Regions from separate parts of the Homo sapiens genome. Here region 2 is linked to region 1. The links are contacts of gene promoters, found by promoter capture Hi-C in blood cells and fetal thymus (Javierre and others, 2016). All regions are on one chromosome and are shown on one strand. Each heading gives the region's core, a stretch centred on a gene start or on the middle of the fragment in contact. The rest is flanking DNA. Distances are from core to core; before and after follow the strand shown. Region 1 holds the start of HOXB13 (homeobox B13). Region 2 holds the start of LOC105371813 (a long non-coding RNA gene).

What was found. Contacts are between HindIII fragments. The CHiCAGO score rates a contact against its expected background, and 5 or more counts as called.
Region 2: a fragment that was not itself captured here is called in contact with the fragment with the promoter of HOXB13 in region 1 in 2 of 17 cell types (megakaryocytes and endothelial precursors); the score reaches 6.2 in megakaryocytes.

What each region holds. Positions count from the first base shown.
Region 1 is chr17:48,726,231-48,730,859 of GRCh38, forward strand. It overlaps HOXB13 (homeobox B13), which reads right to left and starts at 2,520. Exons shown (of 2, transcript NM_006361.6): 1 at 1,763-2,520; 2 at 1-813. The coding sequence starts at 2,363. The coding sequence ends at 560. The HindIII fragment of the contact is 3,706 bases long and covers 150-3,855 here.
Region 2 is chr17:48,810,712-48,815,340 of GRCh38, forward strand. The region is part of intron 1 of TTLL6 (tubulin tyrosine ligase like 6); the gene reads right to left. LOC105371813 (a long non-coding RNA gene) reads left to right here and starts at 1,529. Exons shown (of 4, transcript XR_001752926.1): 1 at 1,529-1,648; 2 at 2,349-2,376. The HindIII fragment of the contact is 1,004 bases long and covers 2,084-3,087 here.

The DNA.
Region 1 (4,629 bases), core at 1,270-3,769:
GCCTCTACAATTGTCCACCTACCCAGCTGTCAGCTGAGAAAAATGCTAAACGGACATCACAGCCACACAACGAATCTGCCCGTTCCCCTCTCCTCAGTCTTCCTGCTGTTACCAGGGTGAGAGGTGTAATGGAAGGGGGTCTGAGAGAAAGCTTCCCTGCAAAGGGATCGCCTTCCAAATTTATTCATAATTAGCTCAATTCATGAAAGCGGTTTCTAAAGTGCTCTACAGAGCTCTAGATAGAAAATATGAGGCTAACGATCATGGCAGCTAGTACTGGTTATCGTGATTATTGCCACTGTCAGGATGAATGATTATGACTGGGCCAGGTTCTTTGGGAACCCTGGTGGAGTGGGCTGTCACATGGGGTTCCGTCTCCCTGCACATACTGGGTACCCAGGCCGCTCCTGAGGAACAGTCCAGCAGCCAGTGGCCTGGGAAGGGTGTTGTCTCTAGGGGCCTCTCAGCAGAGTCCTTGGCCCCAGCCTGGGCTTGGCAGGTTCCTGGTCTCCCCAGGACACCCCCACTTTCGCTCCTCCCACCCAGGCAAGGAGATCTCTTAAGGGGTAGCGCTGTTCTTCACCTTGGCGAGAACCTTCTTCTCTTTGACCCGGCGGTTCTGAAACCAGATGGTAATCTGGCGCTCCGAGAGGCTGGTGGCTGCCGAGATCTTGCGCCTCTTGTCCTTGGTGATGAACTTGTTAGCCGCATACTCCCGCTCCAGCTCCCGCAACTGCCCCTTGCTGTACGGAATGCGTTTCTTGCGGCCGCGACGAAAGGCGCAGGCGTCAGGAGGGTGCTGCCCGCTGGAGTCTGCGCGGCGTGAAAGGGAGGGAGGAAAAGGCATGGTCAGATACCCACCCATGCAGACCCAGGCCTTGCAAGCCCCAAGCTAAGTCATCTCACAGGTGCACACAGGTCACCCTACAGGCGCACGTGCAATCCTGTTCCTCCAAAGCATACCAGGACAGCACCCTGGCTTCCGGCTTGTTCTCTCACCACCGCTCAGCCTTGGCTCCTGAAGGCCACCCTCACCCATCACTGCTCTCACACCCGCGAATCTGCAAACATACCCACACACCACACACAGTCAGGCCTTTGCCCACCATCACATACGTCCAGTCTTCATGCATTTCCAGACTCTTGGCCACTCTTTTAGATTCTACAGGCAAATTCTGGAAACACGTTTCTGCCCCCACTCCCAATACATGCGCATACACACACACACACACACATTAACCCATCCCAGTGCACACACATATGTCACGGCTGCAGGAAACCTAAATTTTTCTTTGGAAATTGGAAAACTCATCTAATAGAAAGTGAGAGGTTGTATTCTCTACAGTACATCCAATACCTTTTTACCCATCTCCCACACCCACTCCCCACGCACCGAATTGAGAGTTATTTAGCTTTTGTGTAGAATTAGTTTGGAATTGTGCTGGGTAGGGACACCCTGATCCCCACTCAACAGCAAAGAGATCTAAACCTCTCAGACATGTTGAAAGGCTGGTCCCAGGGCCTCCTGGAGAAGTGAGGTGGCCTTCAGGCTTCAGATAGCACCCAGCTCAGGCCCCTCACACTGACCTCCATCCAGGCCCTCCAGCTACTCAGACCTCCTTCAGAGTCCTAATAACCAAGGGAGGAGCACCAAGCTCATCCTCACCAGCTCCAAGTCTCCCTCCTCCTCCTCCCAGGGAAATGCCATTGGGACCCACAACCCCAGGCTCAGAGACAAGGGGACCCAGGGTAATAGAGGTACCTGCAAATGCTGCCTTCCAAAAGGGACCTGGTGGGTTCTGTTCTCCCTGGCAACACATCTGGCTGTTCCAGCCACCAGCGAGAGCCCAAGACTGGTAACTGTCCACAGGCAACAGGGAGTCATGTCGCGGTTCTCCAGGAGCACCCAGAGTCTGCACCACAGACACGTCCAGGTAACTGGCCATAGGCTGGTAGGTTCCCGGATATCCCGGATAGAAGGCAAACTCAGTGGGGCGGCTGGGGTACTCTTCCCCGGCCGTGGGAGTCTCCGCGGGGTACGCGGCCAGGGTGGCTGCCTGGGCACAGGGTTTCAGCGAGCTCCGGGACACTCGGCAGGAGTAGTACCCGCCTCCAAAGTAACCATAAGGCACGGGAGCTGGGGACGTCCCCTGGGGCACCCCAGGGCATGGGTGGCATTGCTTTGGCGGCTCCGCCGAGCCTGGCAGATCCAAGGGGGCATAGTTGACAGCAGGCATCAGCGTAGGCGCCGCTGGGTGGCTGGTCAGAGGGGAGTGGGCGACCAGATTCCGCCCCCCTCCCGCTCCCAGCAAGCCTTCGATATCCTTGGCTCCATCCAAGGTGGCATAATTGCCGGGCTCCATGGAGCCGAGGGTCGGCTCATGAGGTGCGGGGGCGGGGAATCTAGGGGGCACCCAGCTCGCTCTCCCCACCCAGGCCGGGGGAATCCAAAGCGTTTTAAATCGCTCCCAGCTCGCAAGTCGCCTGCATTCGCTCAGCACGGCCGTCTTGACGCAAGAGACGCAGGGGCCCGGGCACGCGCGCTGATTGGCTGCGGCCTGGGGGAGAGAAGCTAATAAAATCCTAAAGGCAGAAACTGCGAAAATACTTTACCCCAGCTTATTCTCTCTCTCTCTCTCTCTCTTTCTCTCTCTCTCTCTCTCTCTCTCTCTCTCTGTCTCTGTCTCTCTCTCTCGCTCTCTCGCTCTTTCTCTCCTCTCTCTCTTCTCCCTCTCTCTCTTCTTTTCCCTCTCCACTCCTCTCTCTCTCATTCCACTTAAAAACAACAAGAGAGAAAAGGAAGGAGGTGTCCTTTCGCTGCTTTCCAGTTTGCAGAGTCTCATTTACACGTCCGGGGGGAGGGGAGGCGTGGTGGGCGGAGGAAGAGGGGACGAGGAGCCGGGCCCCACCTCCTTCTCCTCCTCTCCCTCCCTAGCTTTCTGTCTCCTGCGCTTTGACAGGTTTAACGAGAGAATAAAAAGCTCTCTCTATAAAGTGTCCATCTCCTGGGGGGGAAGGGGAGTCGGGGGTGGGGCTGGGAGGCCGCTCCCGGCCTCAGAGGAGAACCCGGGAATGCGCCTGTGTAAGAGGAGGCTGGGAAATGGGGGTTAATAGGTATTTCTGGCAGCCCCTGGCTTTGGGTCCTGGGTACTAGCACCCCAGTTCATTCCCGGTACCCTTCCTGTCCCAGATGTCCTGGAATGAGCTGCTCCGGGCCCCAGGGAGGTGCCCTGGACGCCCCTTACCCAGGGACTCGCTACTGCCCAGAATGCTCTGGAGGCCCTGATTCGGGTGAGGCTGAGGGAAGAGGCGGGAGACACGAACGTAGACGTAGAAGACATGCGATCTGGATGGAACCCAGGACACTCCACTTCCGGACCTGAAGGGGAAATGGAGCCTCTAGAGTGGCCTGTGGAAGGGTCTGGATTTCCCTTTAAGTAAAGACATACGGAGGGACGGAGACCCACAGGACTTGAGGGAGGGACGGGGAGAGGGAGAGATGAGACTCAGGGACAGCAACACAAAGAGGGAAAGAGAGAAGCTGACAGAGCGGATGGGACAAAATCTTGTAAAATCCTGAAGTGTCAGTCAGAAAAGAGAAAGAAGAGAGGCACTTTCCCCCTTTTTTGGGATCTAAAGAAGTCTGAGGAAGCCAAGCCTGGCTGACTGCCAGAAACCAGCTGCGGGAGTTCTGGACCCCAAGAATACAGACGCCTGTGTGGAGATGCCAGTCTCCCTGCCCTGCAGTCCTCTCCCTATGGTCTGCAAGGGGCCCAGGAAACTGTCCCTGATACTGGCATACTCCCACACAAGCTGAGTACCCAGAAAGCCCAAGACCCCTATCTGCCTCCTGCAAGCTTTAAACTTCCTTACAAGGAAAAGGGAATGGAAGGGGAAACCCCAGCCACTGGCAGAATTGCTTGAGGCCCCTCTGTTGGGGCCTAATGTGCAGTGCAATTCAGAAGAATCAAACGGTTTGTTTCACAAATCTGTCTTTAGAGGTTTTCCGCTTCCTTTACTACCCCTCCCAAATCAAATCCTTCTGTCTGCTTTTTCTAGAACTCCCAGTTTTTCTGGAGAAGACAGGAATGTTTCCATTCTACACGAGGGTCTTGACAATTATATGGAATGGCTTACCCTAAACTCTGGGCAGACTCAATCATAGCCTCTCACCAACCTGACCTTGAACTTGAGCCACTTTGTGGGAAAGGGCCCACAGGCAGTAGTGTACATCACTCCTAATGAGCATTGCTATAATTGAAGACACCAAGCACGAAATCTTCACTAGATCGCATTTGAAAACAATATGGAAGAAAAGGGAGGAGATGTCTCTTCAGTGCTTTCCAGTTTCTCACCAGAGTTTCTTGCTTGTCTAATTATGAACTGCAGAAATATCCAGACTTTTACCTAAAGACTAAGAATTTTTCACCAATTTTTACTTGGTAGATGATAGATATGTAGGGCATGTCCACAGTTTTAGTTTCCACTAGGCAAACACCCACACATGCACATTTATTCATCCTTGTACAGTAGAGGCATTAATAGATCCCTAAATTTAAAAAATAATAATAGTCATAGTCATGCCCTATGACCCAGCAATTCCATTCCTGGGCATAAACCCAACAGAAA
Region 2 (4,629 bases), core at 1,336-3,835, 85 kb after region 1:
AAACCTATGTGTATATATAGTATGTGTGTATATATATATAGTACATATATACACATATATAGTATGTGTGTATATATATATAGTACATATATACACATATATAGTATGTGTGTGTATATATATATATATATATATATATATATAGTATGTGTGTGTATATATATGTAGTTGCCAACAACTAGAAAATGCAGATTTCCATTTCTTTTGGAGAGGTCTCTATTCCTTCATGCCAGCAATCAACCAGAGCTCAGTAATGCCTCCTGTAGACATTTCCCAGTCTGCCCCAATGCCCAACACTCCTTTTTGTTTCCCTGACACAGGAGCCAAGTGACAGTTATCCTTATATTATTATTTTTCTTTTTTTTTTTTTTTTTTTGAGACAGAGTCTCACTCGTCACACAGGCTAGAGTGCAGTGGCATGATTTCGGCTCACTGCAACCTCTGCTTCCTGGGTTCAAGCGATTCTGTTGCCTCAGCCTCCCGAGTAGCTGGGATTACAGGTGCCTGTCACCATGCCTGGCTAAGTTTTGTATTTTTAGTAGAGAACGGAGTTTTATCATATTGGTCAGGCTGGTCTCAAACTCCTGACCTCAGGTGATCCACCCACCTTGGCCACTCAAAGTGCTGGGATTACTCAAAGCAAGTGTGAGCCACCATGCCCAGCCTATTTTTCTTATAGTAGCATTGAGACATCTCTTTTTTAGAGACATGGTCTTGCTATGTTGCCCAGGCTGGTCTCAAATGCCTGGCCTCAGGAGATCCTCCTGCCTCAACCTTGGAAGTAGCTGGGATTACAACCATGAGCCGCTGTGCCCAGCTCAAGAGAGGTGACATTTTCTTAAACGCAGCCCACTTCTTTCATTTAAACTATATGCCTGACCCTATAGACATCTGAATTTATACCAGTTCTGCTCTAGTATCTCTGGCCTCCAAGCAGTTTCAAGTGAAAACAAAAGCTACTTCCACCAGGGCTGAGCAGAAAGCTTTTTTTTTTTTTTTTTTTTGAGACAGAGTCTTGCTCTGTCACCCAGGCTGGAGTGCAATGGCACGATCCCAGCTCACTGCAACCTCCACCTCCCAGGTTCCAGCTATTCTTCTGCCTCAGCCTCCCAAATAGCTGGGATTACAGGCACCTGTCACCATGCCGGCCTAATTATTTTTGCATTTTTAGTAGAGACGGGGTTTTGCCATGTTGGCCAGGCTGGTTTCAAATTCCTGAACTCAGGTGATCCGCCCACCTCGGCCTCCCAAAGTGTTGGGATTACAGGCGTGAGCCACCACGCCCAGCCAGAAAGCATTTTAATTCCCTGGTTTTCAGAATAAGAATTAAATCTGACCCAGGTGATGCTGGGACCCCCCCCCCCACCCCCCGCTCAGACTTTTCAGATGTGGACTTTATTTGGTTCTACAAGACTTCTCTTAACAGTCTTAGCAACCACTCCCTGCTCACCTGGTAGTTCCCACCTATTGTCTTGCGTAACAATTTTGTTGGTGCCAACACCAAAAGCAGTCTTGTAGCCTTGAGGAATAAAAGGAGGAAAGGCAAAAGACATGGCCTAAGGAGAATACAAAGGAGTGAGGGGAGCTGCTGGTGGCATCCTGAAATATACATACATCATGGTGTAAGGGCCTCTGCCGTCAGCTACAGGTGACTAAGCCACTTATTAAGAGGCAGCTGCAGTGTAGTAGCTAAGAACTCAGATTTCGAAGTCTCTGTCTGGATTTAAATCCCAGCTCTGCCACTTCCTAGTTGTCTGAACTCAGGCAGTTTATTTAACCTCCTGCCTTAGTTTCCTCATCTGTAAAGTGGCTTCTCCCAGTTATGGAGATTAAATGAGTTTACTCATTTGACTTAATGCAACACAAAGTTCTTAGAACAGTGCCTGGCACATAGAAGGTACCCACAAAGTGCTCTCTACCATTACCAGCTGTGTAACCCTGGACTGTGAACTTCCTGATGGAAGAGGCTGTGTCTCTGCATTCTCAGCTCCTAGCAGTGTCTAGAAAAGATACTAAAAATGAGATGTTCATATGCTCCTTGAATTAATGGGCTGGAAGAATGAATAAATGCATGAACTAATTAAGCTTCTCCAAGGTTCATTTTCCTTAGCTATATAACAGAAGTGTTGTTGTGAGCATTAGGTAAGTAACATTTGTTATTTACATTGTTAAAACATCAACCTTGGGTCCTTCTCATATAGCTGGCACTTAAAATGCTTGTTTCATTCACTTACAATAGACTATTGAAAACCCACTTACCAAGTAGCAGACATTACACTAAAGCATTTATAAACATAATGTCTCATCCTCATAATAACCTATCATGGATACTCTTTCCTCTATTACAGATGAGAAGACTGAGACAGAGAGACTAAGGTAAGAGGCACAGCTGGGGTTGGAAGACATGTCCATCTGACCCCACAGCCTGTCTCTCCATGCTCCCCTCACTGCCTTTTCCTCTCGGCAGGCCATCCATAAATAGTGTGACCATAAACTAAAGTAACTGATCTCCTAACTCCCAAAAGCAATCTTAGTGACTTTAGTCTCTTAAGAGTCAGTTGGGGACAGGCACGATGGCTCATGCCTGTAATCTCAGCACTTTCGGAGGCCAAGGTGGGCAGAGCACTTGAGCCAGGGGTTTGACACCAGCCTGGACAACATGGTGAAACCCCACTCTACCAATAAATAAATAAATAAATAAGCCAGGTGTGGTGGCGTGTGCCTGTAGTCCCAGCTACTCAGGAGGCTGAGGTGGGAGGATCACTTTAGCCCGGGAGGCTGAGGTTGCAGCGAGTAGAGATCACACAACTGCACTCCAGCCTGGGAGACAGAACTAGACCTTGCCTCAAAAACAAAAAGAAAAAGAAAAAGAGAAAAATAATCAGTTGGTCCCACATCATTTTCCTTAAAGTCAACTGCTTTAAATTCCCATCTCCAACAAGGGCTTGGATCTCTCCAGATTTGCCATAACCTGGTAACAGCTGTATTGTTTCTACTTGTATTTATTTTCACTCTCTTTCCCTTCTTTTCTCCAATGTCCACATTGTACCAGGGCTCCTATTAAGGGTGTAATTAGAATATTTTCTAAGCTTCTATGGAATTCCTGAATGTTAGAGCTGGGAGGAATCTTTTTAGAGGAGGTTTTGAACTCTCTGCCCTCTGCCAGTCTGTGCTAGGGGAGGGGACTTGTACCCAGCCAGAGAGCAAGAAATCAGAAGCACCATCAAAACCCCAGCTTCCTGGTCCCCAAGTTATCTTCCCATTATGCTGGGTTAGTGGACAGACAAAGTGGACTAAGTGCTTTAGAGAGTTTTTAAAAGACTAAGGCTGGGTGCGGTGGCTCACGCCTGTAATTCCAGCACTTTGGGAGGCCAAGGCAGGTGGGTTACTTGAGGTCAGGAGTTGGAGACCAAGTTGGCAAACATGGTGAAACCCCGTCTCTACTAAAAATACAAAAATTAGCTGGGCATGGTGGCAGGCGCCTGTAATCCCAGCTACTCGGTAGGCTGGGGCAGGAGAATCGCTTGAACCTGGGAGGCGGACGTTGCAGTGAGCCCAGATCGCACCACTGCCCTCCAGTCTGGGTGACAGAGGGAGACAGTGTCTCAAAAAAAAAAAAAAAAAAAAAAAGACTAAGAGCTGTACTACCAATGTAACAAACACAGTAAATAGCAAAATAGCATCTTCAGTTTTTCTTAATGACACAAGAAAGAGCATTGTGTCATTAAGGAAGGGTATTAGTCCACCTTTCCAAGTAGGATATAGTTAAGACACTGAAAAAATTCTCATGTTTCCTTCCATTTTAGTATAGGGTTTGATCTTGAGATCTTCCAAGCCAGAGGCTGTCAACAAGATCCTGGTTAGACAGCACGAAAATGTCCTACATTGGCCACCAGGGGGAGGGAATGAGCACTGGGACGGGTCCACTGGGACGGGTCCATTGCGGGTTATTTGGAAAAAACTCAGAGGAGGGTCCCTGTCTTATTTCCACTTCTGAAGGACTATACCTGTTGACTACTCTCCTCTTCCCTGGAGGTGTTGCAGAGGGTGGAAAATGTTTAGTGCTTTCTTTTATCTTTCTTTCTTTCTTTCAAACTCCAGCCTGTTGCCCAGGCTGGAGTGCAATGGCACGATCTCAGCTCACCGCAACCTCTGCCTCCTGGATTCAAGTGATTCTCCCGCCTTAGCTTCCCGGGAGCTGGGACTACAGGCATGCACCACCACGCCTGGCTAATTTTGTATTTTTAGTAGAGATGGGGTTTCTCCATGTTGGTCAGGCTGGTCTCAAACTCCCAACCTCAGGTTATCAGCCCACCTCAGCCTCCCAAAGTGCTGGGATTACAAGCATGAGCCACCGCGCCCAGCAGTTTAGTGATTTCTTTTGCAAAACTGAATGAACACGGGCATCCTATAAATGATAGAAAACAATAATTTGGTGGTTGACTAAGAGAACCCTGGGAGAACATATTTCAAGTTGTAGCCAAGTTTTTTCATCTCTGACCTTCATCACCTGGACTTTTTTTCTAGTCTATAGGAATATATAGAGCACTGAAAGTTTCGCCTATTGTGTCTGTCTGTGAAGTCCCTCTCTTTCACCAGATAATAGGTTTTCCTTCACGTACCTCCTTT